4 separate regions of the Homo sapiens genome follow, and all the other regions are linked to region 2. Evidence: promoter capture Hi-C in 16 types of primary human blood cells and fetal thymus (Javierre and others, 2016). All regions are on one chromosome and are shown on one strand. Each heading gives the region's core, a stretch centred on a gene start or on the middle of the fragment in contact. The rest is flanking DNA. Distances are from core to core; before and after follow the strand shown. Region 1 has its middle 120 kb from the start of CTNND1. Region 2 holds the start of OR10W1 (olfactory receptor family 10 subfamily W member 1). Region 3 has its middle 96 kb from the start of CTNND1. Region 4 overlaps CTNND1 (catenin delta 1).

Region 1 (5,916 bases), core at 926-3,425, 390 kb before region 2:
TAGCTGGGATTACAGGCATGTGCCACTATGCCCAGCTAATTTTTGTATTTTTAGTAGAGACAGAGTTTCACCATGTTGTCTAGGCTGGTCTCAAACTCCTGACCTCAAGTGATCCTCCCGCCTCAGCCTCTCAAAGTGCTGGGATTACAGGCATGAGTCACCATGCCCAGCCTTACATAAATATTTAATCAGATAACACACTACAGGTCATTGAAATCCCTATGTATTCTACCCGAGTCCTATGCCTCTCCCTTGCTAGAGAGACAACCATTATCATAAATTTGGCTTGTATCCTTCAGTGCAGGAAAGCATAATTTTCAAAAAAATTAAAACAATAAGATATTGGATTGGATATTCAAGTGGTTCTTGTCCTATATGCAATAAACTGTAAACTTTGGGGCTATCTTTTCTATAAGACAGAAATTATTTGCATCTCTACTGAACAAGAATGTGTAAGTTAACATGTAATTTCACTAAATTTGAGACTTTTAGTCAATAGGAAGCAGTGAGTCAAATCAAGTATATTCTCCTGAATTACCCTTGGTGGACCTATTAAATCTATTAAATAATGTCCCCATATGATATTGAAAGGACATCCCACACCTTTTCCCATTATTTCCACGTTTAGAATAATTTTTTTTAGCAAGTCTATATTTTACTACTGATGTGAATCTATAAGTAATAATAATAATCATGAGCATTTATTGGTGCCAGCACTCTTTTAAGGCAAAGGTACATATTAAGTCCATTTAGTCCCTCGACACCAACATTAGGTCCAATTATTATTCTTATTTTACAGATGGAAAACAGACACAGAGAAGTAAATTCCACAGTTATATACAGTTAGAAAGTGGAAGAACTATGATTTAATCCCAGAGTTTACATATTAGTTTGCCATTTGCTGTTTTGCTCTCAACATAATATTTTGAAGAACTCTTCAGGATGTTAATATAGTTATTAAAAAAAATAGAGATGGGGTGTCTCTTTGTTGCCCAGGATGGTCTTAAACTCCTGGCCTCAAGCAATCCTCTCACCTTGGCCTCCCAAAGTGCTGGGATTGCTGGCATGAGCCACCATGCCCAGCCAATGCTAATAACATAGTTATAGTTCATCATTCATTTTAACTATAATTTTACCATAGAGTGTTCCACTGTATATAGTATGTATCTGGTTACATACAACGTGTGTGAACCGTCACTTTATGTTAAATGAAGTAAACCAGACTCAAAAGGACAACTGTTGCATGATCTCACTTATACAATGATATGGTTTGGAATTGTGTTCCACTCAAATCTCATGTCCAGTTGTAATCCCCAGTGTTGGAGGAGGGGCGTAGTGGGAGGTGATTGGATCATGGGGGAGGACTTCTGCCTTGCTGTTCTTGTGATAGTGAGTGAGTTCTCATGATATCTGGTTGTTTAAAAGTGTGTGGCATCTGGCTGGGCGCAGTGGCTAACACCTGTAATCCCAGTACTTTGGGAGGCTGAGGCAGGTGGATCACCTGAGGTCAGGAGTTCGAGGCCAGCCTGGCCAGCATGGTGAAACCCTGTCTCTACTAAAAATACAAACATTAGCTGGGTGTGGTGGTGCCCGCCTGTAATCCCAGCTACTCGGGAGGCTGAAGCATGAGAATCGCTTGCACCCAGGAGGCAGATGTTGCAGTGAGCTGAGATAGTGCCACTGCACTCTGGGTGACAGAATGAGACTCCATTTCAAAAAAAAAAAAAAAAAAAAGTGCGTGGCACCTCTCTTCTTCCTGCTCCAGCTATGTAAGACATCCCTGCTTCCCCTTCACCTTCTGCCATGATTGAAAGTTTCCTGAGGGCTTCTCAGCCATGCTACCTGTACAGTCTTCAGAACTGTAAGCAAATTAAACCTCTTTTCTTTATAAATTACCCAGTCTCATGTATTTCTTCATAGCAGTGCAAGAACAGACAAATACAAGATAACTAGAATAGGCAAATTCATAGATACAGAAAGTAGACTAGGGGCTGGGGGAAGAAGGGAGGGAATGGGAAGTTGTTAATAGGTACAGAGTTTCTGTCTGAGATGATGAAAGATTCTGAAAAGGGACAGTGTTGATGCTTGCACAATATTGTGAATGCACTTAAATTGTATATGTACAATCTATATTGTATGCAATATACTTAGATTGTAAATTGTATATTTGAATGGTTAAAATGATAAACTCTATGTTAAAAAGAGAGGATGTGATGGTTCCTGACTTCCAGGCTTGCTGTAAGAGTTAAATGATAGACTACTTGTGAGAGAACAGGAACACATTGCAGATACTCAGTAAATTGTAGCTGCTGCTAGTTTCTTCCTCCTCTTCTCCCTCGTTTCCTTAGAAAAAGTCAAAAGAGCATGGCTTTTCTTTTGATCTGTATTAATTTCTGAGTTCAGAGTCTGAACATACAATTGTGTAGCTAACTTCCCACTGTCTACATGGGGCCTACTACCCCACCTACTGTCATTTCTTTTTTTTTTTTTTTTGGGACAGTCTTACTCTGTTGCCCAGGCTGGAGTGCAGTGGCATGATCTCAGCTTGCTGCAACCTCCGCCTCCTGGATTCAAGCGATTCTCCTGCCTCAGCCTCCCGAGTCACTGGGATTACAAGCATGCTCCAAAATGCCTGGCTAATTTTTGTATTTTTAGTAGAGATGGGGTTTCACCATGTTGGCCAGGCTGGCTTGAACTCCTGACCTCAGGTGATCCTCCCACCTCGGCCTCCGAAAATGCTAGGATTACAAGTGTGAGCCACTGCGCCCGGCACCCACCTGCTGTCATTTCTAACCCTACCAGGTGGCTGCCTTTCTCAGCCTGGGCTTTTTTACTTTGCCATCGTTGGATGAGTATTTAGAAAGCTCCAGTTTTTCTTAGTGTTAGCCTCCACAAGCACTTAGAAGGAAAATCTGCTGTCAAAACACATTACCTTGTGGGTTTCTGAGACTGAGTTATGTTTGGGGTATCTGTGCAACTGCTGTCTTCCCATGGATGCTGATAACCAAGTGCTGACTGTGAAGGACAAATACAGACATAGAAATGGAGGTGAATGTGTGGACTTTGTTGATTGTTTAAACAGCATAAGCCCAAAGAAGCCAATTTATATGGAAGTGAGAGTAGGTGGGAGAGAGCCCAAGGAGGCCGAAAGAGCATGGCTTTTGCAATTAAACAGGTAAAGACAATCTGGCTTCATCACATTTACCTCGGTTACAATTAGCCTAAGGTTTCTGTTTGCAAAATGAGCGTAAAATACCACAAAGTGTGGTTGTAAAGATTCACCTGAGAGGCATGTCAGTTTGTAAAGCATGGGTTAAGTCTAATTGCCTTCCTTCTCTATTTTGGAATAGAATGAATTAATTAAGCAGGTGTTTTCTCATGGACCCACAAAATGTAAAGTAGAGGAGAGGAAGGACCAATATTTCCCAATAGATAAAGAGAGAAAAAAGAATAGAGTATGTGCGAGGATGGCAAACTTTGTGTAAGGTGAGAAGAGAATAGGGCTTAGGTTTTAGTAGGAGCTTAAAAGAATAACTTGCTGAATTAATGGAATATTTGTTAGATGGGTCTATTACATTTGTCCAGCTACAAGTGACAGAAAACTCAAGCAAGGTGACTTAAGCTGTAAGAATATTTATTCTTTGTTTACAAGAAGTTTTGCAGTGGTCTTGTCAGGAAATGTCTTCTGCAGAAGCCAAGAACCAGCTGGCTGATTTCTCCTAAAGCTCATTGGCCAGATGTATATCATATGATCACTTCTAGCCACAAAGGGCCTGGGAAAGAGCAATTGGCTTATCAAGCCTCTATAGTTTGATGCAGTCAAGAGAGAAAGGGTGGACATTTTTGTTGAGTCTGTAACAGTGGGCTTAGATTGGTAAGAAAGACAAGCATGGTTACTTAATCTACTGATACCAGGTGAGGCTCAGAAAAATGTGCCCTGGATGAATTTGGTGTCTACATGTAAACTGCTGTCACTGTGAAGGAAAAACAAAAACTTCCTCTTATCTGACTGGGCGTGGTGACTCACACCTGTAATCCCAGCACTTTGGGAGGCTGAGGCAGGTGGATCACTTGAGACCAGGAGTTCAAGACCTACCTGGCCAATATGGAGAAACCCTGTCTTTACTAAAAATACAAAAATTAGCCGGGGGTGGTGGTGCATGCCTGTAATCCCTGCTACTCAGGAGGCTGAAGCATGAGAATCGCTTGAACCCAGGAGGCGGAAGCTGCAGTGAGCTGAGATCGCACCACTGCCCTCCATAGTCCAGCCTGGGCAACAGTGAGACTCTGCCTACATAAATAATAAATAAATAAACAAACTTTCTCTTACCTTACCTTGAATATCCTCTCTGTAGCACATGTTCAAATCCTACCTACATATACCTACTGTTTGCTTATTCATGCTTATATGCAGGTATTTTATGCATTAATTAATGTGATAGATATTAATTAAATGCCTACCATGTGCAAGGAGCTGCCCTAGGTCCTTTGACTATCATGGTTTTTATTATCAAGGAGGTTACAGTCTGGTAGAAGAGATATTACTGTACTTCAATGATTATATAATGAACAGCACAAAGGTTTAAGTGCCCTAAAAGAAGTGCTTAGAAGTGCTGTGAAAGGTTCTATGAATGCAGAAATTACTTCTGGCTGGTTTAATCAGGAAAGATTTTTTGGGGGGTGGTGTAGGGAGGTAGGGTTTGCATTGATACAGGTTAAAGAGAGGTGGAGAGGAAAGGTGGTCACCGCGAGATGAAACAGTAGGAATAGGCTGAGAGGGGGAAGTGCTGGGCTTGCCAAGCAATTCTGATCTCTGGTTCCTCCCTTTAGTGACTTCCTGTCTTGCTTTTTGGTGGGGCCACACTTACGTCAATAATTACATACTTTTCATTTATGTGTGTGTATATCCTTTTCCCTCCTAACCAGACTGTAGCATCCACACAGCTGCCCATAACAGGTTCTCAATAAATATCTGATGAGTTCCTTGTTAATATTAATTACTATTCTTTAAGATTTATATAGTGACCATTTCCAAGAAGACTTGATATCTTTTGCAAATAAAAGCTTGTAGTGAATGTGTGTTGGGATGCCTGCCTGTCCATAGCCCCTTTCTCTGGGAACTGCTCTTTCATTTCAGTTTGAGATATAGTCTAGGCTGCCACTTAGGTATAGTCTAGAGTACCATGTCATGGCTCCCTCTCTGGGCATGGCTTATTGGACCAGGAATGGACATCTCCAAACTGGTCTTTCCCAGGAATCTGGGGAACAAATGTGCTTGTGGTGGCTAAACTCAGAAGCCCATTTCAATCAGGCTAGGGGCTGGCACCATGGCAACCAGAACCATGTGTAAGCTGCATTAGTGGGGAGCAGAAACCATGGCTAAGCAGAGGGGGCCACACTGCAGTGAAGAGATGGGGAAAGGCATACAAGAAGAAGCAGAGATACAACATCATTCACCTCCAGTAAGAGGGAGATGCATGGAGGCTCCATCCCTGACAGCCTCCCACATACAAGCCAGATCCAAGTCCTAAGGAAGCCTGATGTGTTTAGCATCTGAAAGATTGTGCTGCCTTTGCAGTACACCTCCTCTTTATTTGAGCTCAACTTGAATAGTTTTCTGTTTCTTACATACAAAAAATCCTTGGATAGAGCAAAGTGCAGCACAAAATAGGACATTAATAGGTAACAAACCTGGAATCATTTACAAGAGTGGCTCTCTCCTTTCACCTCAAAGCAGTATATTCTGTAAACTTCATATACTGAAATATTGTGGCTGCCTCCGAAAACACTTATTAATGTAATGCAGCTCCCATTTTTTGTTGTTGTTGAGACAGGGTCTCGCTTTGTTGTCCAGGCTGTAGTGCAGTGATGCAATCACAACTCACTACCGCCTCTAACTCCCAGCTTCAAGCGATC
Region 2 (5,682 bases), core at 2,339-4,838:
AAAAAGAGCATTGCTTAATGATAAAAATGGTTAATTTATCAGCAAGATAGAACAAATCTTAATATACTTACATCTAATAATAGATTCAAAATATAGAAAATAAAAATTGTTAGAGCTAATGGGAGGGATGGACAAATCCATAATAACAGTTGTGGATTTAAGCCCATCTCCTTCAGTAATTGGTAAGACAAGTAGATAAAAATATGCATAGATATTGAAGATTAGAACCACACTATTCGCTAACCTGACTTAATGGATTTCACTCAACATCCACAGGACACACGTGGGATGTCAGAATGAAACATATGTTGTGCCATAAAACAAATCTTAAAGATAAAATTTACAATCCAGGCTCAAAATTGAGGATCTTGTACTTAGCATCAACTCCATATTTACATGAGAATAGACACCTCCATTCAAAAGGGTGAGAAACAGGAGGCACAATGCAGTCACTATTCCGTAGCAATTTTGAATCCAATTTGGCACATTATTGGTATCCTCCACTCTGGCAGCAGAGAATCTTCCTTTATTACAGCTCAATTATGTTCCCTAGGACTGGTTTCCTGATCCATAGTTATGTACAGATACAATAGTCCCCCCTTACCTTGTCCAAGGGGGATACAGTCCACGACTCCTGCAGTAGATGCCTGAAGCTGTGGATAGTACTGAACTCTATACATAGTAACAGATGGGTAGTGTATTCAATGTGGATATGCTGAACAAAGGGAGGGACGATTCATTTCCCAGGTGGGATAGAGCAGGATGGCTTGGAATTTCAACACTTTACTCCGGACAGGACACAATTTAAAACTTACAAATTGCTCATTTCTGGAATTTTCTATTTAATATTTTTATATTGCATTGACCGCGGGTAACTGCAACTGTGGAAAGTAAACCTGCAGGTAAGTGGAACCTACTATATTGGTTTCACTGTCAGGGTCTGTTTTCTGAGAACTCTCCCATTTATATAAAAAACAGAGATAATAGTCTTAATGAGCTTTTTGAAGATTGATAGAATATGTATTTCTGGCACACAGGAAGCACTTAATATTATCTATTACTAATAACTAGTATTTGAAAATATAAATTTGAGGCTGAATAATATCTTTTTACATAGTAATTGTTTAACCAATACTTTATTATAGGAGAAGTGGATTAATTTCTTTCTTTTCTTTTCTTTTCTTTTCTTTTCTTTTTTTTTTTGAGACCGAGGGAGTCTCGCTCTGTCCCCTAGGCTGGAGTGCAATGACGCAATCTCAGCTCACGGCAACCTCCGCCTCCTGGATTCAAGCGGTTCTCCTGCCTCAGCCCCTCAAGTAGCTGGGATTACAGGCACACGCCACCATGCCAGGCTAATTTTTGTACTTTTAGTAGAGATGGGGTTTCACCATGTTGGCCAGGCTGGTCTCAAACTCTTAACTTCATGATCTGCCCACCTCAGCCTCCCAAAGTCCTGGGATTATAGGCATGAGCCACCGCAACTGGCCTATTTTCATTTTTATGTATGATGCTATAATAAACAACAAATTTGTTCTGATTGTTCTCTGTTTGACCCTGGTTCTCTAGGTTTTTGTCTGCCTTTCCCTGTGCCCTAGGAGACTGACTTCTGTGGACTGATTCACCCAGTCTCCCCTCCCTTCTTGCTGCCAGTTGAGTTTGGTCCATGGAGACAGGGCAAGAAATGGAAGATTTTGAGCAAAGAGACGCTGGGGTATTTGCCTCCCTGTCTCTTCCTTGCATGGCCATAGTTCTGTCATAGTTTCTTTTTATTTCTGATGCCACAGTTTCTACCAAGTGGTTTATCTGCTTAGATCTAACTGTCACTGGACTCTGATAATGTTGCACCCTTCTTCTATGGCACACCTTTTAAGTCTAGGGCTGAGAAAGCTTCCTGCTATTGCTAGCGTGTTAGTGCTCTGCCACATTTTATTGGTTTCCTTACCTATAACCACTGCAGATAACCCTTTTTAAATATTTTTTTAGTTAAAAATCTATTGAGTGAGCTATCTCTTCTCAGCTGGTAACTGGACAAAGTATTATACTTGCCACTTTATATCACTTTATGCTCATGTAGTTCTTTCCAAGAAGAGAAATTACAGAGTCAAATTGTAGAAATATTTAAAAATCTTTGGCACACATAAACAGTATCCATATAATTTATACCATCTTTTAGATGAGTTTTAACACCAAATGATAGAAATCTCAGTTTCATACAGATTTGGTGGGCTGGAACCAAATACTTGCCTGATAGGCTGTCCCCTCGTCTTTCCTAGCTGTTCTGGGAAAGGCAGTTCCTGGTAAGAACTCTCCCTACGGCCCCTTTCATCTCACTGTTCCTCAGGGCATAGATAAGTGGGTTGAGCAGTGGGGTTCCCAATGTGTACACCAGTGAGATGAACCGATCTTGCTTGGGGTTGTAGCTGGAGCTGGGGCACAGGTACATGAAGGCACAGCAGCCATACTGCAGCAGCACCACAGTGAGGTGGGAAGAGCAGGTGGAGAAGGCCCGGTGGCGGCCAGCAGCCGAGTGGATCTTGAGCAGAGCAGCCACTATGAAGGTGTAGGAGGTGGTGATGAGGAAGAAAGGCACAGCAATGGCTAGTATGGCTGCCACCAGCACTGACTGCTCATGAATGTGACTCTGAGCACAAACAACATGCATGACTGGTGGCACATCACAAAAGAAGTGCTCAATGCCCTGAGCCTGGCAGAATGGCAGAGAGAAGATGAAGGCCACCAGTTGTAAGGACAGGAACAGACCACTGATGACTGATGCCACAACCAAGTGGACACAAAGAGTCAATGTCATGAGGAGAGGGTACTGCAACGGGTGGCAAATGGCCACATAGCGGTCATAGGCCATGGCAGCCAAGAGGAAGCAATCAGCACTGCCCAGTGCAATGAAGAAAGCCATCTGGGTGGCACAGCCCAGGAGAGTGATGGTCTTCTCTGACTGTAGGGTGTTGGCCAGGATATGGGGCACCACCACTGCAGTGTAGCATATTTCAATCCCAGAAAGGCTGCCCAGGAAATAGTACATGGATGTGCATAGACAGGTTTCTGTGTGAATGGACACCACAATGAGAATGTTCCCAGTGATGATCAAACCATAAACCAGGCTGACCCCAAGGAAGGACAGAATATGCAGTTCTGGGCAGGAGGGATAGGCCAGGAACACAAATTCCATCAACACTGAGTGATTTTCCCAGGTAATTGAGCTAACAGTATTTCTCTGTGGAGAGCTACAAGTACAGAAGGAAGAATCAGACTGAAGATAAATTAAGTTACACTCTGAGCCATGAATCTAATGTAATCAGCACTGGAGTTAGAAACTGGAAGGATCAAGACTAGTTCTTTTTCTTTTCTCCACTTTTACCAAGTTTCTCCACATTAATATCTACACCTCAATTTCTACCTGCCAAGAGTTGGGCCAAACTATGTAAGATACTATTGAAGAAAAATGGCAGAGGAAGTGGGTGGGATTCAGGAGCTATTTTCAGAAAGAGTGGAATGAAAATTCAATTCTTTCAGCAAATTCACAAGAAAGTGTCAAGGAATTCTTGGGGCTAGAAATCATTAAGGTAAGGGAGATAAGCCATTTATTCATTCACTTATTCATTCACATATTTATTAGGTTGGTGCAAAAGTAGTTGCGGTTTTGCCATTTTGATGGCAAAAACTGCAATTACTTTTGCACCAACCTAATATTTACACTCAATATCTCCTGGGGTATTGAATAAGTGATATGTCAATGTAACTCTCAAAACTAGTGATGGGAAGTGAAGAAAGAAAAAAAATTACCCATGAAGCAAAGGGCTAACAGAGGCCTGAGTATGACAGTGTCAGGGATACGCCTCAGAAAGCAAAGCCCTGTCTACTATTGGTTTTTCTATCCTTATCTGACCAGAAGTATAAGGCTTGAAGGAAACAAGGTGTTTTATCATATGTTTCCTCCTGGCGTGGGTGGAGGTATGAGAAAATATGTGATCCCAAGATGTTGGAAATCTAAGAAGCCTTCCTGTGAATTTGGGCATGATTATGAAAGTCTAAGCCCATCTATTTTTCATATTTCTCAGAAGCTAATGTGAAATCTGGGAGAAGCCATATCTTTTCCACAAAAACCTTTTAATAAACAGACGTAATTTGCAAAGGGCATCCATTCCACTTCTTTTCCCAGACCAACTCATATTAAATAAGGTGGAAAAGACGTAATGTGTGGCCTTGTTTCAACGTGCCAAATTTTAATATTTCCTGTCATTGAATATGAGATTTGAAGAGAAATCTCTACCCAGAGGCACCACTTCCAGTAAAAATTATTCACACAAACCCACCTCAGTGTCACAAGCATGGGGAAAAATATGAGTAGGCAGCTACAAATATTAAGAGCACCTAGGGCAGAAATGGCTCTCTGCTGTTTTTCCAACAGCTAACAAGTGGTATCTATTTCAGTTGGTCTCTTTTCCTGAGCTGAACTTCAATAATGCTTTGAGTGGTTTCTAATGCCACTTAGCATATTGCACATTATACTATATCATGTGGAGGAGGGGCAGTGTATCAATGTGAAATCAGCAGTGAAGGGAAGTGATGTGGTTTGAATAATTCCAGCTCCTGGCTTCATGATGTTAGGTAATATATAATTTCTCTAAGCCTCAATTTCTGTATTTGAAAAATGGGAATAATAATTATACTTAGACAAAAGAATTGCTGTAAGTTTAAATGCAATAGTAATGTAAGATATCACAATGAACTGTCCATAGTAATGGCAACCTAATAAAAGATAATCATCATTATTATTTATAAATTCAAGGGCAGCCATTCTGCTTTATTTACATTTTGATCATCCCATATAAGCACGCCTAATGTTGTGCAAATTTTAGACACTCAATAATTATATGTCGAATGGATAATACAGCTTGAAAATGTTATTTATACATTTTCTTCATTTTCTACTTTCACTTTGCCGTGCAATGAAAGATTTAAGATTATTCATAATCAAATCACTTGTTTAGGAGTCCTTATATAAAACAACTTCGTATCTAAGATTTGGGCTGCACTGTGGAAATAATTCTATCATTCAAGAACATAGCATATGGAAGTCTACAACAGGCACACATCTAAAGGCTAGTCTACCATCTATATTATTATACAGAGACAGTTTGAAATCTGTGTCACAATGACAACTTCTGAGAATTTTATTGTAGTCTATTACATTCATATCATCTTTTCAAAAAGTTATATTTTGTTTTTAATTGACAATAATAATTGTACAATGTGATGCTTTGATACATATACACATTGTGGAATGATCAAATCAGGCTAATCAGCATATCCGTCATGTCATATAGTTATCATCTGAATACTGCTCTCTATAATATTTGTAATCTGAACACTCCACCTATAATAAAATATTTAAAATATTTACATCAGAGCTATTATAAGTCATAAATTCTAACTGCAAGAAGGGACCTCAAAAATGGCCAATTTGATCCCCAGTTATTAGATACTTGAATTTCCAATACAGTGTGTAGACACTGGGTCACCTTCAATGCCCAGGGAATCCCATTATCTCCTGGTTTGCTTGCTCTGCTGTGGAAAGACTGGATTCTCTGAAAGTCATTTCTGTAATAAACTGAAGCCTGCCTCTGTGCAACTTCTAAATGTTCCTTTGTTCTACACAATATG
Region 3 (5,887 bases), core at 429-2,928, 410 kb before region 2:
GGGTGAAATGTATGGTATGTGACTTGTATCTAAATAAAGCTGTTACAAATAATTTTTTAAAATAATTGTTTATATTTAAGAGATATGGAGCTAGGTGAAGATGAACAAAAATTAATGAATCAAAATTCAGGTAGTCATTAGCTTTTACATGACTATCATTTCCATATATTACACATAAACACTTCTAAACTTTTCTATACCAAATTTTGACTTTCTTATTTTAGTAGACAAATAACTATTTCAAGTTACATTATGTTACTGTTGTCTGCCAGCCAATAGTTTCATTTTAGCAGTGTTGCCATCTAAATATGGCAATGTCTGTGCAGTGATTTGAACATTTTGTTGCATATTTGCCCTTATTTATAAAAGTATAGTGGAATTGGAAAAATAAAGTGCTGATGTTAATGATTTTCCAATTGTGTCAAAGGAAGCTATTATTTAGTATGCCAGAAACAGTAAATTTTGATGCTTATCAAATTTAAGCAGATCTGACAACTGTGTTCAATTATAAAAGAAAACAGTCAAACTTAAAACACATGTACAAAATGTTATAAGTATGTTGGCAAAGCTTGTGGCTAAAAATAAGGTGCAGTCATGGAACAAATGTGTGGATCTTTACAACTACGTGTAGCAGAATATTATTTTGATGTATCAGGTTTTTTTCCAGATAATATATATATTTTTTAACCTGGGGGTCCTTCCCAGTTCAAACTTGACCTCTTGGCAGCCATGCCTCGGGATAGGGTTGTTGCAGCATAGTGCAGATACCAAAGAAGTCAATCCTTGGCCTTTGAGGTTTAAAATATGTTTTGGAAACTCAAGGTAGAGATAAAAACCTTTGTGATTAAAAAGCTTTTGAACTTCAAAAGCTAGAACCATCCTGAGAATAAATTCAGAGAATAACCCAGAGAATAAACTCAGGCCTTAACCACAGGCACATGAGAATATGTGATCAGTCAGAGCCAGTTTTTCCAGTGTCTTCTTTTCTCTTAAAGACTAGAAAAAAATTCCTTAGACTTGTAAAGTGAAGACAGTCAGAGGAGAAGTGAGCTCTAAGTCTGGTGAATCTTTAAGGAGGAATCTATCCAGTGGCCCAAATTGCTAGAGCTTCTGCACCTTTTTTCGTTTTTCTTTTTTTTTTTTTGAGATAAGAGTCTTGCTCTGTCACCCAGGCTTGAGTGCAGTGGCGCGATCTCGGCTCACTGCAACCTCTGCCTCCCGGGTTCAAGTGATTCTCCTGCCTCAGCCTCCCGAGTAGCTGAGACTACAGGCATGCACCACCACGCCCAGCTAATTTTTTTGTATTTTTAGCAGAGATGGGGTTTCACCATGTTGGCCAGGATGGTCTCGATCTCTTGACCTTGTGATCCACCCGCCTCGGCCTTCCAAACTGTTGGGATTACAGGCGTGAGCCACCACGTTCGGCCGCTTCTGTGCCTTTTGAAGTGTAGACATTGAGAAGAAATGTTCGTGTGGCAGGGCCAGGCAGAGAGAGTCTGAGACAATATTCCTATGAACCCAGAGTGGCATGGGACAGTGGATGGATGTGTCCACTGCCCTCTGAGAGGGAAAAAGGAGTAGCTGAGAGCCTGGAGAGGCTTTCCTTCTGGGACATGGAGTCATAAATATGATCAACGTGGTTGGGCAGTTGGAAACCAAATGGGAATAAAGATGTTATGGTAAATGCCAATATGCAGGTATCCCTCTCTGTCCCATTCTTATTCCTTGGTACTTTGTGAACCCTGAGAGAAGGAATATGCCAAATATCATTTCAAGTAAACTGAATGAACAAGGATTTTGAGTTGCAAGGATACACCAGAAGGATTTTGAGTTGCAAGGATACACCAGAAGGATTTTGAGTTGCAAGGATACACGCCTGTAATCCCAACACTTTGGGAGGCTGAGATGGGCAGATCACGAGGTCAAGAGATGGAGACCATCCTGCCCAATCAACATGGTGAAACTCCGTCTCTACTAAAAATACAAAAATTAGTTGGGTGTAGTGGCACACGCCTGTAGTGCCAACTACTCAGGAGGCTGAGGCAGGAGAATCGCTTGAACCCGGGAGGCAGAGGTTGCAGTGAGCCAAGATTGCGCCACTACATTCCAGCCTGGGTGACAGAGCGAGACCCCGTCTCAATAAAAACATAAATAAATAAATAAATAAATTAAATAAAATACAATCTGTTTTTAATAGTTTAAATATCTGCATATGGTGTATAACATTCAGATGTAAAATCAAGTTAAGCATTTATATCATGTTTGAGACGTCATAATTTTTTTCTCTAGCTCTATGGATTGAATTCCTTCCTTTCCTCCTTTCCTCCTTCCCCCACCAAATAAAACATTTAAGTATAAAGTTCAAATTTCAGGCATTCTACTTTCCAAAACATTTTCCAGGAAAGCATTATGTATTATTAAAGGCAGGGACTGTCTGAATGGGAAAATAGCTTTCCTACCCACCCCCCATTCCAGAATATTGCAATGAAAATGATCAAACCACTGAAGCTTCTAGTAGTTTATCAATTTTTATCATGGGCTTTTGTCCATCCAGTTGCAGCATGACCATTAGAAATAGATAAATTCGGCGGGGCACCCGGTGGCTTACACCTGTAATCCTAGCACTTTGGGAGGCTGAGGTGGGCGGATCCCCTGACGTCAGGAGTTCAAAACTAGCTTGGCCAAATTGGTGAAACGCCGCCTCTACTAAAAAAATACAAAAATTAGCCGGATGTGGTGGCAGGCACCTGTAGTCCCAGCTACTCTGGAGGCTGAGACAGGAGAATCGCTTGAACCTGGGAGGTGGAGGTTGCAGGGAGCCAAGATCGTGCCATTGCACTCCAGCTTGGGCAACAAGAGTGCAACTCCATCTCAAAAAAGAAAAGAAAAGAAAAGAAATGGATAAATTCATTGCAGTCTGTTCATTTACTGTCTTGGGGCAAACACTCAGTTAGTGGGCCTTATTCCTTTGCTACTGAGGAGAAAGATGGAGCCTGGGTCTCAAGCCCACCTTTGCTGTACCTTTGCCAAATGGTACTGTATGCTTGCCGGCTAGAAGGAGGGTGAGGGATTTTTTTACAGCCTGAGAATGAGTGTGTGTGAGTGAGGTGGTATCCACATTCTTACATTCTTTTTTTGTTTTGTTTTGTTTTTGAGACAGAGTCTCACTCTGTTGCCCAGGCTGGAGTGCAGTGGCGCGATCTCCACTCACCGCAACATCCACCTCGCAGGTGCAAGCAATTCTCCTGCCTCAGCCTCCTGAGGAGCTGGGATTACAGGCGCCTGCCACCACCCCCGGCTAGTTTTTGTATTTTTAGTAGATACGGGGTTTCACCATTTTGGCCAGGCTGGTCTCGATCTCCTGACCTCAGGTGATCCATCTGCCTTGGCCTCCCAAAGTGCTGAGATTACAGGCATGAGCCACCACCGTGCCCCGCCTGAGCCAACACTGCACCCGGCCATTCTTAACTCCAAGTCATTGCAGTTTCTTTTTCCCAGAAAACAAGGGGTTAGATGTTGCATTTCATAAAACTAACCAAAGTTCTGTTTACTGATGCAGCACAAGAGATGTAAAAAAAAAAAAAAAGGTAGTGGGCCTTATTATATCATTATAGTGAGAATAGCCCTGGATTTTGAGTCTAAATGGTTTCAGTTCTTTGTCATCTTTGTGGTCTTCATTTTTGTTTCTGTCTTTATACATATTTTTAAATAAAACATCATTAAAACTATATAGTTCAAAAATATTATTTTTCTTTTTAAAAAATTTATAATAGAGACGGGATTTCACCATGTTGCCCAGGCTAGTCTTGAACTCCTGGGCTCAAGTGATCCACTTGCCTCGGTCTCCCAAAGTGGTGGGATTACAGGCGTGAGCCACCGTGCCTGGCCTCAAAATATTATTAATTATAAAATATATGATACATACAAAAGTGTATTAAAACCTCTGGCATTTAAAGAATATTGCTAAAATAAACACCCATTTTTGTACCATCCACCTTAGAAATAGAACTTTACAAATATCTTTAATAGCTTATGAATCACCTGGGGATCATTTTAAAGTGTGGATTCTGATTTAGTAGGTGTGTGAAAGAGTCTGAGATTCTGTATTTCTAACAGGCTACCAAGTGACCCAGATACCAGTGGGCCAAGGATCACGCGTGGAGTAGCATGATCTGAGATGGCTCCCGTGTGCTTCTCCTAATTCTATCCCTTTTATCTCCATAAGAGGTAGACACTTTCTTAAATTTTGCATCAATTATTCCTTGTTTTATTTTAAATAGTTTATCTGTAATACATTTTTAAACATTATAACTGTTTAGTTTTGCCTATTTTAAAATTTTATACAAATGAAAAAATAAGTTGTACATTCTCTGTGACTTGCTTATTTTATTCAATCTTGTGTTTTACAGCCACATTCATGTTGATGCGGAGACCTGTAGTTCATTAATTTTTGCCACTTGTTAGTTTCTGATGTATGAATAGCCTCTTTTTTTTTTTTTTTTTTTGAGACTGAGTTTCATGCTATTGCCCAGGCTGGAGTGCAGTGGCGCGATCTTGGCTCACTGCAACCTCCGCCTCCCAGGTTCGAGCAATTCTCCTGTCTCAGCACCCCCCTAGTAGCTGAGATTACAGGTGCCTGCCACCATGCCTGGCTAATTTTTGTATTTTTAGTAGAGATGGGGTTTCGCCATGTTGGCCAGGCTGGTATCGAACTCCTGACCTCAGGTGATCCACCCGCCTCGGCCTCCCGAAGTGCTGAGATTACAGGCATGAGCCACCGCGCTTGGCCATGAATAGGGCCTATCTTATGCATGAATTTCTATTGTTGATGGACATTTGGTTGCTTTCACTTTTTTGCTATGACAAACAAATTTCTGGTACATGTTTTACAGTGCAAATGTGCCAGAACTTCTTTAGATTATATGCCTACGAATAGAACTGCAGGATCATAGAGTATATATATCTTCAATGTTTATTTTGATGCTAAATTGTTGTTGAAAGTGGTCAATCCAATTCACACCCCACCCCACATTCCACATCCACTAACACTGGGCTGGTCAGATTTTTTTGGAGATTAGGTGGCTGTAAAAGTGTATTTTGGTATGGAATCAACCTGGGTGTTCTACAACAGGTGAATGGATAAAGAAAATTGGTATGTATACACAATGGAATATTATTCAGCCATAAAAAAGGATGAAACCCTGTTATTCCTGGCAACATGGATGGAACTGGAGGACATTATGTAAAGTGAAATAAGCCAGGCACAGAGAGTTAAAAACCATATGTTCTTACTCATATGTAGAAGCTAAAAAAAGTTGATCTCATAGGAGTAAAAAGTAGAACAGAGGGTACTAGAGGCTGGGATGGGTAGGGAAAAGGGAGGAATAGGGAGAGATTAAAGGCTACAAAATTACAGCTAGTTAGGAGGAATAAATTCTAGTGTCCTATACCACTATAGGATGACTATAGTTAACAATAATATATAGTTTCAAATAGCTAGAGGGAGGATATTGAACATTCTCAACACAAACAATTGATAAATGTTTGAGGTGATGGATAAGCTAATTACCCTGATCTGATCACTGTACATTATGTGTATCGAAACATCAGTATGTGCCCCCATTAATATGTACAATTGTTATTCGTCAATTAAAAAATTAAACAAAAACAAACCACATTGCTTACCAAAAGCCAAGAAAGTGTATCTTGAGATTTTTAATTGCTACTTCAAAAAATGAGATTTTCATGTTTATTAGCTAACCAGGTCCTTCATATCTTTACTAGCTGTGAGAACTCATATGAACTGCTTAACTTTTTTGCCATTATCAAAATTACTTAGTTTACTTTTAGATATCACTTTGGCCAGTTTTGCTGGGGAGAGGTCACT
Region 4 (5,571 bases), core at 1,492-3,991, 450 kb before region 2:
TTTAGATTAAAATTATATAGCTGCTCCTGATGATGGTCCTGTCTTGTTTTATTGAACTAGGACTTGGGTATGAAAACTTTCATGGGCTAGTGAGACCAGGAAATCAACTAGCTTTTAAAGCTTGATTTGTGTCTAACAATTGTAGTGTTAGATTAGAGGTTGAAGTACAAAGCCAAAAAGCTATTAAGAGTTTACTTTCCAAAGAGTTTTGATAGCCCTGCTTGAGATGATTTTTATCTAAATAGAAAAGCCTGGCTGCTTGTCAGCAACACTTTATTTCCCTGTTATGTTCTTATCCTTTGGCATTGAGCTAGATACAAACCCTACTCTTCTCTCTTCCTTCTGGATTGGTCCATTTGTTTATCTCATTCAATAAATATTTGCCAAGCACCTCCTATATGCTAAGCGTTGTGTCAAGGTTAGGTTTAGATTAGAGAGTGAAACAGATGGATCTTTTCTCATAGATTGCAATCCATGAGAATCCTCTATAGCTAAGATCTATGATCAGACGAGATCGTGTGCGTTCAGGGTGATATGGCCATAGACAAGATCTATGATCTTAAAAACACTTCTCTCTGTGCCATATCTAAATACAATGAGATGTTACACAGAATGATGTGTAAAGGCCCTATCTCACAAGTTTCTTGACACTGATGTACTTTGTGACAGAGGTCAAAGCTGGGACCTCACTTGGCCACTTTTTTTTTTTTAGACAGAGTCTTGCTCTGTCACTCAGGGGCACAATCTCGGCTCACTGCAACCTCAGCCTCCTGGGTTCAAGCGATTCTTCTGCCTCAGCCTCCCGAGTAGCTGGGATTACAGGTGTGTACCACCACGCCTGGCTAATTTTGTATTTTTAGTAGAGACAGGATTTCACCATGTTGGCCAGGCTGGTCTCAAACTCCTGACCTCAAGTGATCCACCCTTCTTGGCCTCCCAAAGTGCTGGCATTACAGGTGTGAGGCACTGCGCATGGCCGGCCACTTGTTTTTCTTGCTGAACTAATTTTCTTTGCTACAAACTGGAATCACCTCACCCAGGAAGAACTAAGAACCAGTCTTTCCATATCATTTTTTTCTCATTTTGTCTATTTTTATATCTGAAGCAAAGGTTCTTAATATTTTCATAGATGGAATTGACTAGACCTAGCCCTGTATATCTGAGCAAGTTACATAAGAATTCCCTGTATGCTTGTTGAAAATGCAGAGTCCCATGTTCCATTTCCAAAAATCGATTCAGTAGGTGGGACTGAGGAATCTAAAATCATGGTAAGTCATCCAGGTTATCCTCTTTTTTTTTGTTTTTGTTTTTGTTTTTTTTTTTGAGACGGAATTTCACTCTTGTCACCCGGGCTGGAGTGCAATGCCACGATCTCAGCTCAGTGCAACCTCTGCCTCCCGGATTAAAGCGATTCTCCTGCCTCAGCCTCTTGATGAGCTGGGACTACAGGCACCCGCCACCACATCCAGCTAATACTTGTATTTTTAGTAGAGACGGGGTTTCACCATGTTGGCCAGGCTGGTCTTGAACTCCTGACCTCAGGTGATCCATCCACCTAGGCCTCCCAAAGTGCTGGGATTACAGGCATAAGCCACCATGCCTGGCCCATCCAGGTTATTCTGATGTATGTGGTCAGTTAACTGTGACTTAAGGGACTGATCTAGTGACTTGCTTAAGGTTATAGCCTCAAAGTGGAACCCAGGATTACTGGCTTCAACTCCACTGGCAGTAATACTAGCATGGTGAATGTAGACAATATGATGTGGTGATCACCATTTTAAGAGAGCATTCATAGAGGAAACTTTATCTCAAAGGAATGCATTGCTTTCAATAGAGTTTGAGATAATGGTAAGTGATAGGTTGGTGTGTGGTATCTGGGTAGGAGAAGCTTCTCATCCTGAAAATCATATGTAGGTAATGCTCAGGTTGCTGAGGCAGGAAGCTAGCCCTTAATTTGGGGTCCTGTAGGTCACAGAGAATCCCCTGGAATTGCCGACTTTGACTTAAGTGTCACTTCTAGCTACAAAGGGTATCTCAACTGGCGAGCAAGTGGCCCCATTGGCTAAAGCCAAGGAGACCACATCTGGAAACTTAAATCACTCTGGTAGCTTCCAGAAAGAGCTACCTCAGGAAAGCTCAAAAAAGAAACAAGATAATTGTTAGGAACAATTTTTTTTCACACAGCTTTAAGACTGTTCTGTTGCCTGTGTCACTTAAAGCATTAGTTCTTCAACTGATCCATCCAGGATTTAGAGACAGACATGGATGAAGAGAAAGCTGGAGGAGGTAAGATAGGTTGATTGGTCTGCATCATTTTAACCTGACATTTTTCTCCTTTTATGCAGTGTAAAATGACCATGGATAGCTATCCATGAATGGACTAAGAGCTTTACACTTGTTATAATTGTAGGAGCTATAAGCATGTGGCAACTAGCTTTAAAATTTTTTTTTACCTGAGAAAAAGTGCTATACTTATCTCCATATACTACTTTATTTTTTAAAAAAGACAGGTTATTCCACTTTTATTGAGGACACAAAAGTATTACTACCCTGCTGTCTTTTCCCCCAGTATCTCTAGTGCTAATGGACAGTGCCATAAGACATTTATGCCTGAGGAAAAAGAAATATGGGATATTTGTGGTGATGTTCCAGTCAATTACCCAATTTTTGTCTTCACCTCAATTCTTTTTTTTTTTTTTTTTGAGGTGAAGTTTCGCTCTTGTTGCCCAGGCTGGAGTGCAATGGCATAATCTTGGCTCACTGCAACCTCCGCCTCTTAGGTTCAAGCAATTCTCCTGCCTCAGCCTCTGGAGTAGCTGGGATTACAGGCATGCGCCACCACGCCTGGCTAATTTTGTATTTGTAGTAGAGACGGGGTTTCTTCAGGTTGGTCAGGTTGGTCTTGAACTCCCAACCTCAGGTGATCTGCCTGCCTCGGCCTCCCAAAGTGTAGTGATTACAGGCGTGAGCCACCATGCCTGGCTCACCTCAATTCTTCTTTTCCTTCCACCTTAAAGGCAGGCTTAGCTTTGGTCTTACAGTTCACGCGTTGGCAGAATCGGGGCAGGGGGAGTGCGTTGGTGTGCGTATTTGAAACTAATTCAGGGCTCTGTTTTTGGCAGTATGCTGGATTAGATAATTCTGAAAAGTCCTTTCAGCAGAAGCAACCAAGATACTGGGTAAATATATTTATAAAAAATACTTTTAAACATATTGCTGAGCAGGCACGAAAGTAAGGAACCTACGGCTCTTCAAAATGAAGCAAAAGCTGGAATCCTAGGAAGTAACTGCCAAAGCCAGCTTTTCCTCAGAATTTTTGCCAAATTCAGCAGACCATAACCTTCTATTTTAGTGATTACACAAAGTATGGGCAACAGGAAATGAGAAATCTAGTAGGTTCCCTCATAAAGCTGGACACCCTCAGTGTAAAGGTGAACAAGAAATAAACACTCCATAGAAGGGCGCAGCAAGGAACTCATTTGTCTCAACCTTAGTGGCACATGGAAACTATAGAATATTTTCCCTGATGATTTATAACCACAAATGGCCTTCTATGGGCTTTCAGTCCAAACTTAGGCTACCTGTGTGGTCCAAAAAGCTTAACTGGGGAATTTAAAGTGGTACTCATTTGTTTATGCTTCCAGGTGATTTTCAGAAGCAAATGCAATTCCTCTAAGGCCTCAGAACAATTCCCATAGATATACTTTCAAGGCAAATGAGTGCTCTTGCCCAAAAATTATAAACTGAACAAAGAAATAAGGCACAATGAGTGAAAAGACAGACACAGAAGCTGATCTTTTAAATACTTCAGATGTTGGCATTGTTGCACAGACTATAATGAAATAACGATTAATGAACTTTTTGAATTAGTGGAAAAACCTTTTTGAATTAGAAGTGAAAAATACAAATTTGAGGTAAGAAGTCAATGCATGGATTAAATAGATTAGACAAATTGAAGGAGGATTTGTGAATTGGAAGATAAGAAATTATACAGAATGCACTCCAGATAGAGAATGGAAAATAGGCAAGAGGTTGAGACAACAATGGAATAAGATCTAATAAACATTATTTGGAACATCAGGAGATAGGAGGAGGCAATATTCAAAGAGAAATTTTTTAGGGTTGGATGAAAGGCACCAAACCTCAGACTTAGGGAGCCCAGTGAATCTCAAGCAAGATAAACCAACTTACCTAGTACATCAGGGTGAGATGCAGAAAACCAAAGAAAAGATTGTGGGCATCTGGAGAGAAAATACAGACTACCTGTAGAAAACCAGCCAGATGGTGACTTCTGTGTCAACAATGAAAGCCAGGAAACAGTGAAATTTATCTTCATCATGTTAAGAGAAAAAGGAACTTATTATGAAAGCTTACCTGAGGTGACACTTTTTAAAAAGCTACTAAAAACATTTTCCGACAAAAGCAGAGTTTCCACTTACAAAAGGATGTCCTTGAGGTGGAAGGAAAATGATCTCAGATGGAGAATCAGATGCAAGAAGGAACACTGAACGAAATTGCTAAAGCCTTCACTGTAAGAGGAGTGTGTAATTTATGGGAGAGAAATACAGACTAGAATTAAAATGCTGGACAACAATAGCATGTAAAGTTGAGGGAGCAATTACAACACTAATTTTCGGGTTCTTCAGGAGGAAAGTAAAGATACTGATAAGACTTGAAAAACTAAATAGATTGGTACAGAAGTAATTGCATTGAAATGGCAAAAACTGCAATGACTTTTGCACCAACCTAATACATATTAGCTGGAATAACCACTAAAGAATGAATATAGGACATATAACTTCCAAACAAGTAGAGAGGGAAGAAAGCAAAAGGAGTATGGGCAAGGTTAGTACTGGTGCTGCATCTGATGGAACAAGCTGAGCCTGCAGGGCAGTGGTGGTAGGTAGTGGTGAAGCCCCCACCTTTATATCACAGCACTGGGTATAGCGTGTGGCAAGTTAAGTAGATGTGTGCAGCAAAGAGCAGAGTGAAGAACAAGAATAGGGACAAAGGGAATAGCTCCAAGACAATTTCTATAAAAGCAAAGTTAAAAATTGGCTGGTAAGTGAGTTGGTCAGCCTGGCTTAAAGACACAGTCAGTACAAATGCTTTCATATTTTGCTGATGAAATTGCAAAGTCTTCTGTAATCCCAGCACTTTGGCAGGCCGAGGTGGGCGGATCACGAGGTCAGGAGATCGAGACCATCCTGGCTAATGCAGTGAAACCCCATCTCTACTAAAAATACAAAAAATTAGCTGGGCGTGGTGGTGGGCGCCTGTAGTCCCAGCTACTCGGGAGGCTGAGGCAGGAGAATGGCGTGAACCCGGGAGGCGGAAGTTGCAGTGAGCCGAGATCATGCCACTGCACTCCAGCGTGGGCGACAGAGCAAGACTCTGTCTCAAAAAAAAAAAAAAAAAAAATTGCAAAGTCTTACTTGTCTGAGTATCCTCCCCATATCCTAAAAGGGTTTGACCCAGAGTAGGGCTGGACTGAAGCTGGAGGCTACCCTTTGACATGAAGATGTTATCATTTTTAGGTACCACTGGCTTTAGAGTAGGAGAGGTCACAGG

The links. The method cuts DNA at HindIII sites, captures the fragments that hold promoters and counts their contacts. A CHiCAGO score of 5 or more calls a contact.
Region 1: a contact is called between a fragment that was not itself captured here and the fragment with the promoter of OR10W1 in region 2, in 1 of 17 cell types (endothelial precursors). The highest score is 7.5, in endothelial precursors.
Region 3: a fragment that was not itself captured here is called in contact with the fragment with the promoter of OR10W1 in region 2 in 1 of 17 cell types (endothelial precursors); the score reaches 8.0 in endothelial precursors.
Region 4: a contact is called between a fragment that was not itself captured here and the fragment with the promoter of OR10W1 in region 2, in 1 of 17 cell types (endothelial precursors). The highest score is 5.7, in endothelial precursors.

What each region holds. Positions count from the first base shown.
Region 1 is chr11:57,877,034-57,882,949 of GRCh38, forward strand. No RefSeq gene overlaps it. Among named protein-coding and RNA genes, the nearest start is that of CTNND1, 120 kb to the left of the region's middle. The HindIII fragment of the contact is 5,774 bases long and covers 1-5,062 here.
Region 2 is chr11:58,264,672-58,270,353 of GRCh38, forward strand. It overlaps OR10W1 (olfactory receptor family 10 subfamily W member 1), which reads right to left and starts at 3,589. Exons shown (of 1, transcript NM_207374.3): 1 at 2,121-3,589. The coding sequence starts at 3,187. The coding sequence ends at 2,270. The HindIII fragment of the contact is 7,272 bases long and covers 1,886-5,682 here.
Region 3 is chr11:57,855,246-57,861,132 of GRCh38, forward strand. No RefSeq gene overlaps it. Among named protein-coding and RNA genes, the nearest start is that of CTNND1, 96 kb to the left of the region's middle. The HindIII fragment of the contact is 1,656 bases long and covers 851-2,506 here.
Region 4 is chr11:57,819,151-57,824,721 of GRCh38, forward strand. It overlaps CTNND1 (catenin delta 1), which reads left to right. Exons shown (of 21, transcript NM_001085458.2): 21 at 1-390. TMX2-CTNND1 (TMX2-CTNND1 readthrough (NMD candidate)) reads left to right here. Exons shown (of 21, transcript NR_037646.1): 21 at 1-30. Among named protein-coding and RNA genes, the nearest start is that of CTNND1, 60 kb to the left of the region's middle. The HindIII fragment of the contact is 1,710 bases long and covers 1,887-3,596 here.